Linked DNA regions of Homo sapiens: regions 1 and 3 are each linked to region 2. The links are contacts of gene promoters, found by promoter capture Hi-C in human tissues and cell types (Jung and others, 2019). All regions are on one chromosome and are shown on one strand. Each heading gives the region's core, a stretch centred on a gene start or on the middle of the fragment in contact. The rest is flanking DNA. Distances are from core to core; before and after follow the strand shown.

What was found. The method cuts DNA at HindIII sites, captures the fragments that hold promoters and counts their contacts. A contact is called where the count stands out against the background at its distance.
Region 1: a contact is called between the fragment with the promoter of DENR here and a fragment that was not itself captured in region 2, in 3 of the 25 tissues and cell types used here (bladder, dorsolateral prefrontal cortex and heart left ventricle).
Region 3: a contact is called between the fragment with the promoter of OGFOD2 here and a fragment that was not itself captured in region 2, in 3 of the 25 tissues and cell types used here (IMR-90 fibroblasts, dorsolateral prefrontal cortex and lymphoblastoid cells).

The regions. Positions count from the first base shown.
Region 1 is chr12:122,751,323-122,754,076 of GRCh38, reverse strand. It overlaps DENR (density regulated re-initiation and release factor), which reads right to left and starts at 1,253. Exons shown (of 8, transcript NM_003677.5): 1 at 1,127-1,253; 2 at 270-384. The coding sequence starts at 375. RefSeq lists enhancers at 745-804, 1,896-2,754 and a silencer at 945-994. The HindIII fragment of the contact is 19,306 bases long and covers 1-2,754 here.
Region 2 is chr12:123,621,353-123,624,052 of GRCh38, reverse strand. EIF2B1 (eukaryotic translation initiation factor 2B subunit alpha) reads left to right here. Exons shown (of 9, transcript NM_001414.4): 8 at 1,292-1,417; 9 at 2,133-2,700. The coding sequence ends at 2,297. Among named protein-coding and RNA genes, the nearest start is that of SNORA9B, 6.0 kb to the right of the region's middle. RefSeq lists an enhancer at 1,477-2,676. The HindIII fragment of the contact is 7,939 bases long and covers 1-2,700 here.
Region 3 is chr12:122,973,965-122,976,664 of GRCh38, reverse strand. OGFOD2 (2-oxoglutarate and iron dependent oxygenase domain containing 2) reads right to left here and starts at 1,421. Exons shown (of 7, transcript NM_001304833.2): 1 at 1,282-1,421; 2 at 798-854; 3 at 1-11. The coding sequence starts at 1,413. It also overlaps a transcript of ABCB9 not described here. RefSeq lists an enhancer at 1,517-1,976. The HindIII fragment of the contact is 12,569 bases long and covers 1-2,700 here.

The DNA of each region.
Region 1 (2,754 bases), core at 4-2,503, 870 kb after region 2:
CACCTTGAGGACCTTCAGGCTGAAATAACCTAGTTGCACATCCTGTTACAAATGGACTGTAAGCTTCTTCAGGCAGAGTAGCCAGACACAAATCACCCAGGTGGGGAAACTCTGTTAATTCATGCCTCCTCCTCCCCAGGACTCCTCTCCCCCAGTACAAACTCACCAAATGAAAAGGATGGGGAAGAAAGCTTACCAAATGTCAAACTGTTATTACAATGCATAAAAGTATAGTGAGTAAAAGTCATTCTGTGGCTACCAACACTTGCCTCCACAATAAAGGACTCGAAGTGGGTAATCGGCATCTAACTTGGCACTGTTCCTTGGGTCTCCTTTGCAGTCAGCCCCGCTGGATTCAGAAATGTCAGCAGCCATTTCACAAACCTGTAAGCAAGGAAAATAACACACCCTCACTATTTTAGAATCAAGACCCCAGAAGAGCAGTGTTCCTCTCAACAGAAACCTCCCCACCCCAAAGCTGTTTCAAGTCTGTTGTTGAGTGGGGGATACAAGCTGCATTCGATTCATAAAATATGAGCAATCCCAGGCACAACATCTCCTTGCTCCACAGGTCTACAGGGAAGCAAGCAGCAAATGGACCATGAAGGATGGGGCAGAGGGACTCACTAGAGAAAAACAGGAAGCAATGGGGAAGGAAAGATGGGGTGAGTACCCACGGCAGACACGGAGCAAAAAGGTCTGAGGGTGATCTGGGAGGGATGCAAACTGCAGTGAGAGAAGGGCTACAAAGGCGCCGAATGGAGAGAGGCTGGAAGTGCCTAGGAACAAGGGGTGGGTCATCGGAGAAGCCCGGGGTGCAGGGTGTGGGGGCAACTAAACGCCATGAGAGGGGCCTGGGGAGTCTAAAAAGGGCATGGGAGGGGGCGGGGTAACCAGAGCGTAAGAAGGATGAGGAGAGAAAACGAGCGCAGAATGTAAGAGCACTGAGGGGACAAGGGCGACCAGGTCTGAGGCGAAGGAGCAACCCCGGGGACGCCAGAAGGGGCCCTTGTGGGCGGGGGTGTGGAGAGGCCCGGCCCGGCCCCCTTCCGCCAGGCAGCATCTCAGCTTCCCCCACACTCTCTACGAGCTTCTCGGGAGCGGGAGAAGCACTTGGGGTCGTTACCCAGGCGGTCGCACAGGCCCCGCCGGCTCCGCTCCCGCCGCTATCGCCAGCTGAACCAACACATGCAACTCGTCTCCCCGGCCAGGGCCGCCCGAGCGCCCGACCGCCAGCAGCGCTCCCGCGAGACAATGAGCCTTTATCGCGAGATTCCGGCCGCCGCTGGGCGGATGTCGCGAGAAGCCGGAAGACGGGGGCGGAGAAAAATTGCGGAGCGTGCGCCTTGCCCTCCGGTGGGGGGCGTGGCCAAGAGGCCGAGAGGCGGGCCGCCGGCAGGCGGTGCTCGTCACCCGTTGGAGAGGATGAATCCTCGAGATGGGCGTGCCGAAGGGAACGTGACTTGCAGACGCAGAGAGCGCACCTGAGTCACAAATGACTCCCTATTAATGAGTCCGAGGATCATCGCCTCGGTGTCTGCGGTGCATCCTGGAGTCCTGACTAACCTCCAGCTACTGCATAAATCACTCCCGTGCGGGGAGATTGCAGCCGGATAGAGCGTTTGGTCGCATTTTAACACCATGCACTGAATTAAAGGAAGGTGTTCTCCCTCCCTCCCTCCCTCCCTTCCTTCTTTCCTTCCTCTCTTCTTTTCTCTCTCTCTTCGCCGGATGGAGCGTTTGGTTGCGTTTTAACACCATACACTAAATTAAAGGAATTCTTTTTTCTTTCTTTTCTGTTCTTTCTTTTCTTTCTTCTTTCTCTTCTTTCTGTCTCTTTCTTCCCCTTCCCTCCCTCCCTCCCTTCCTTCCTTCTTTCCTTCCTTCCTCCCTCCCTTCCTTCCTTCCTCCCTCCCTTCCTTCATCCTTTTCTTTATGTTTTGACAGGGTCTCACTCTGTCACCTAGGCTGGATGGAGTGCAGTTGCACAAACACGGTTCACTGCAGCCTCGACCTCCCAAGTAGTTGGGAATACAGGCGCGCGTTACCACACCCAGCTAATTTTTAATTTGTTTATAGAGGTGGGGGAATCTCCCTATGCTGTCCAGGCTGGTCTCGAACTCCCGGACTCAAGGGATCCTCCCGCCTCCGCCTCCCAAAGTGCTGGGATTACAGGCGTGAGCCACCGCGCCCGGCCTACAATTTTTTTTAATGAAAAAAAGAAAAATGTAAGAGTATGGGAATATATGGGGAAAAGAAAGATCAGATTGTTACTGTGTCTGTGTAGAAAGAAGTAGACATAAGAGACTCCATTTTGTTCTGTGCTAAGAAAAATTCTTCTGCCTTGAGATGCTGTTAATCTGTAACCCTACCACCAACCCTGTGCTTCCTGAGACCTGTGCTGTGTCAACTGAGGGTTAAATGGATTAAGGGCTGTGCAGGATGTGCTTTGTTAAACAAATGCTTGAAGGCAGCATGCGCCTTAAGAATCATCACCACTCCCTAATCTCAAGTACCCAGAGACACAATACACTGCAGAAGGCCGCAGGGACCTCTTCCTAGGAAAGCCAGGTATTGTCCAAGGTTTCTCCTCATGTGATAGTCTGAAATATGGCCTCGTGGGAAGGGAAAGACCTGACCATTCCACAGCCCGACACCTGTAAAGGGTCTGTGCTCAGGAGGATTAGTAAAAGAGGAAGGAACACCTCTGTGCAGTTGAGATAAGAGGAAGGCATCTGTCTCCTGCTCGTCCCT
Region 2 (2,700 bases), core at 50-2,549:
TATATATATTTTAAAATAGAGACACATTCACTCTGTTGCCCAGGCTGTAGTGTAGTACAGTGATCATAGCTTACTGCAGTCTTGAACTCCTAGCCTGAAGCAATCTTTCCACTTCCCAAAGTGCTAGGATTACAGGCATGAGCCACTGTGGCCGGCCTGTCATTTGTTTTCATTTTAATTGAGCACATTTGACCTCAATTTATTACAATCTCTCTCTCCATTATTTAATTTAGAAAAGCTTCATGAAAGCTTTTTTTAGTTAAAATATATGTAACATAAGGCCGGGCGTAGTAGCTCACGCCTATAATCCCAGCACTTTGGGAGGCTGAGGCAGGTAGATCATCTGAGGTCAGGAGTTCGAGACCAGCCTGGCCAACATGGTGAAACCCCATATCTACTAAAAATACAAAAAATTAGCTGGGCATGGTGGCGGGTGCCTGTAATCCCAGCTACTTGGCAGGCTGACGCAGGAGAATCGCTTGAACCTGGGAGGCGGAGGTCTGCAGGCAGAGTGTTGAGTCACATGGTAACTATATATTTAACTTTCAGAAACTAATGATTTTCCACAGCAGCTGCACTACTTTACATTCCCACTAGCAAAGCACAAAGGTTCCAATTTCTCTACATCCTTGCCAACACTTGTTTTTTTAAATTTTTTTATTTTTTGAGATGGAGTTTCACTCTTGCTGTCCAGGCTGGAGTGCAATGGCACAGTCTTGGCTCACTGCAACCTCCAGTGCCCGGGTTCAAGCGAGTCTCCTGCTTCAGCCTCCCTAGTAGCTGGGATTACAGGCACCCCCCATCCCACCATGCCCAGCTAATTTTTTGTATTTTTAGTAGAGATGGGGTTTCCCTATATTGGCCAGCTGGTCTCAAACTCCTGACCTCAGGTGATCCACCCACCTCGGCCTCCCAAAGTGCTGGGATTACAGGCGTGAGCCACCACATCCAGCCTCTAGTGGCTGTTTCTATATCCTTTGAGAAACATTTATTTTTTTGATTCCAAAGTCAGAATTAGATATATCTAATATATGTATTAGATATATGTATATCTATATTATATACATAACTTTCTATTGCTGTTTTTTAATTGTTCCTTTATTGTAATTGAGACGAGGTCTCACCGTGTTGCCTAGGCTGGTCCCAAACTCATGGGTTCAGGTGATCCACCCACCTCGGCCTCCCAAAATGCTGGAATACAGGCATGCACCACTGTGCCCGGCCCGCTTTTCTGTGGCTTCTACTTCAGATGCACTCTAGAGCTCATCCATTCCATTTTCTGCCTTCCCAGATTGGAACCAACCAGATGGCTGTGTGTGCCAAAGCACAGAACAAACCTTTCTATGTGGTTGCAGAAAGTTTCAAGTTTGTCCGGCTCTTTCCACTAAACCAGCAAGACGTCCCAGATAAGTTTAAGGCAAGAGTTTTACATATTTGAAGGGGTACTAAAGTCTAAACAGAAACCTTTGGAAATTGTAGTCCTAAGAATGTTCCAGTAATTTTTTCACTTCCTATTGCTACTTTCCCCAACACTTGGAATACAAAGATAAATTGGTGATTGGACTCACACATTTGTCCCTAGAACTTCAGTCTTTCAGTCTCTTTAAGTAGCACCATAGATGGGTGGAGAGGAAGCCCGAAGCTGGTGGGTAAGTCCCAGCTTTGGGCTTAACTGAGCTCAGCTCCCATCACCACAACTTACAAACTGTGCGAGTTGAGGCAAGTCCTTTCATTTCAACCTCTGAACCGGTTTTCTTGTCTGTAAAATGGCATAGCAGTATCTGACAGGGTCATGAGGATTCTAAGATAATCTTAGCACAGTCCCTGGCACGCTGCAAGCTCTCTATTGTGACTCTCGATCTTCCCTTGAGAGGTCTGGAGAAGTTAATCCGGCATGAGAATGAGGGGACATGGGATTTAAGTTTGTTACACTACAGCTCTCAGCCAGCACACTGCCATGATCTGGCTCATGGCCACAACTCTGCCCTCGTCTCTAGTGTCCTGCATAGCTTAGTTTCTCCCATTTTCAGAGAGCAGTCTCAGGAAGTAGCACACTGATCACTCACACCAAGGCCCTACCAGGTCAGAGCACTAAATATTCAGTGCCGACTAATGTGTACTTCTCTCCTCAGTATAAGGCAGACACTCTCAAGGTCGCGCAGACTGGACAAGACCTCAAAGAGGAGCATCCGTGGGTCGACTACACTGCCCCTTCCTTAATCACTCTGCTGTTTACAGACCTGGGCGTGCTGACACCCTCAGCAGTCAGCGATGAGCTCATCAAGCTCTATCTGTAACCTGTGAGCCCTTTCCTGCCAAGGTGCAGCTTACGTAGTTGAGGCAGGGTGAGTAGCTGCTTGACACCCCAGTGAGTCAGGCCAAAACTGAGATGTGTTTAATGAAGATTTATGGAGTAAGGACTTAAAATCATACATCTTGGAGAACCTTTCTTACTCATTTCAGTCCCATCTAAAAATGTGTCAGCTATTCTAAATCCCAACTTAAATTGTTCTTACGGTTTCTAGAAACTTTCCTTTTCAGTTTCCAGAAATACAAGTTAGATAATTGGCTACTTAACTGATGAAAGATGAGCCCAAGTCCACCTGTCTTCATCCTCCCCTGCACTCCAGACTGATCTGCCTAAAGCACGCGAGATGCAGGCGAAAAGCAGCCACACCCCTCTGCCACAAATGACCAACA
Region 3 (2,700 bases), core at 172-2,671, 650 kb after region 2:
TCCTGCTCAAGCTGGGGTGGCACAGGGTTGTTACCAGGTGGGGCCTCCCATCCTCCTGAGGCCACTGTACAGATGAAGAAACTGAAGCCCAGAACGCCAGACAGGGCCCAGGCTGGAAGCCAAGTCTAGCCTACACTCCTGAATCTATCTGGGTCAACTGCAAGTTCCAGACTGTTAGCTGAAAGGGACTTCTAGAAGGGGACCCATCCTGTTTCAGGCTGCCCCAACCTGAGCCTAGCTGGGATGAGAACCCCTAGATGTACCTCAACCATCTGGGCCCACACAGGGACAGGAGACAGTCATGGCCAAGTCCTGTGTTCCAGAGGTTGCTGAGGACTCTCCTGGGAAGCTTCCCACCACTGACTCCAGGGGAAGGAGGAGGAGGGAGTGGGGCAGCAGCCCTGGCAGCAGCCTGCGGGGTATATGGTAAGGTGTGAGGAGCCCAGGGGCCTGGAAGCTGTGGCTGGGATCACATCTGCTCCTGCTGTAAAAGCTTGGGCAAGGGATCCCTCTTTAAGCCTCAGCTTCTCAATCCAAAATGAGAGTGGTGCTTGTGCTTATCTCACAGAGCTGTTAAGAACGGCATGACTAGGCAACTTAGCAACTTAGCATTTCCCCTTCTCTCTCCTGGTGCCAAGACTCAGGTGTGGAGGGATGAGTGGGGGGCAGGAAGGAGGAAAGTGAGGGCCTAAGTGACCCTTCAGGGATCAGGGACTGAGGCTAGGCTCAAGCTGTGTCCTCAAGCTGCGGACACAAATCTAACGAGGAGGAGCTGTGCAGGGGCAGGGGACTGGTACCTCTGCTAACAGCTGCTGGAAGTCCTTGGCGCTAACACAGCCTCGGCTGCGCAGGATCTGGGAGCAGAAAGAACACTGAGCATGACTGTATGACCTGAGGAAATCCCTTCACTCTCTAAGCCTCAGTTTCCCCTGCTTAAAATGGGGAGAGGAGCCCCGACCTCAAAGGATCATGGAGAGAATGAACTGCGGAACCCTGTCAAGCTCAGGACAGGGCTCCGGGCTGGTGTTGCTGTGAGGCGGCAAGCTGAGCCCGGCCCTGTCCTAAGCACCCTACATGCTTGTTCATTCCTTCCTCACAATCTCACAGGGAGATACTATTACCCCTTTACGGTGAGAAAACCGAGGCAGAGAGAGGCCGTCATTCTTGTATTTGAAGATACGGTGCGCGGCGTGCGCAAAGCAAACGACCCTGGGGACGAACTTCCCTCCTCCACTACCCCTCTCTGCCCACTGCTCCGTAGGGACGACAGCGGCCACTCACCGGGCCGTAGTCCCGGCGCAGCTGCTGCTCGCCTCGGAAGCGCACGTGCAGCCCATAGCGCGCCACGTACAAGTTATCGGTGCAGAAGCAGGCGCAGCGGCAGAAGTGCCGCGGAGCCCCCACCGTCGCCATAGTGAAGCACCCACAGCCCTACCAGCTTCCGTAGAGAGACTTCGGGCACGCCCCCAACCGCGGGAGGCGCGGAACCAGCGGCCAAGGGGCCGCTCTAAGTTCCCAAGGGCGGAAAAGGACGAAGACGCACCTCGCCAGGAAACGGTCTGCGGAGAAAGATGCTCCTGGGCCGGGTTGGGACCGGCGGCCTCCTCGTTCCGCCTCCCAGTTTTCCCACTACGAGGCAGGGACTAATGGCTCCACTTTACAGACAGCTGAACTGGGTCGTGCCTTCACAGGACGGGGAGAGGAAGGGACTCGGAGCCCCAAGGCCTTTGACTTAAACGCCGACCCACCCCCCGCCGTCTGCCCGGAGCTCGTGGAGAACCAGCCGAGCTGAGGACAGTTTAAAGAGCTCGGAGGTCCGACTAGTTCCCGCTGGTGCTTCAATCATCCAGCCCTGTACGTTTCAGTTTGGATTTAGCATCTACCCCGGGTCCCTGCCTGGCGCTTCCGGTCCCTCCGCCACAGTCTGTTGGATTACCTCAGATTGCCCCAGTGAGTGTCTCCACCAAAACGCTCCGTCTCGCATTACTTCCGGTGGCGTTCCCAATGGACGCGGGAGGGCGGGGTCAGGTGTGGGAGGGCGACGGGGCGTGGTCTCACCGCAGCCAACAAATGACAACTCTTGCAGACCGAGCCTCTTCTCTCCCCGGACCTTTGCTCAGGAATCTACCAGCATTAAACCTTTGAGCTAGGTACTATTATATCACCGTCTTACAGATGAGGAAACTGAGACCCAGAGAGGCACAGGGACCCGCCGCAGGTCACACATCCAGTAAGGGGCAAATATGGCGTTTGAACCCTACAGAGTTCCCCAGTTAACCACCACAGGGCTTCTGGGAGTGGTGGAAGTATGTGGGATTTGGGGTTTTCTCGTGCAGAGCTGCCCGGCCCGAGAAGGTGTTTAACGTTTTACAGTCGTCTTGATTGCCCAGTGATAGTGAGAGGCCCTGCTATCTAGGAAAGGATCCATTTCCCCAGATCAATGTTCATTACCCGCCTAACTGCCCTTTTTCCCCAGGAGGCCCAGGGCAGGTCGGCTCCCCAGCCACCCACCAGGCAGGCCTGGCACATGCAGCACCCCACCCCACCCTCACCCCCTCTCCGTTTGCAGCAGTTTGCAAGATGAGTGTGTTGTACCTATCAGTTTATTTATTTGTTTATTTACTTTTTGAGATAGAGTTTCACCCAGGCTGGAGTGCAGTGGCGCGATCTCCGCTCACTGCAACCTCTGCCTCCCGGATT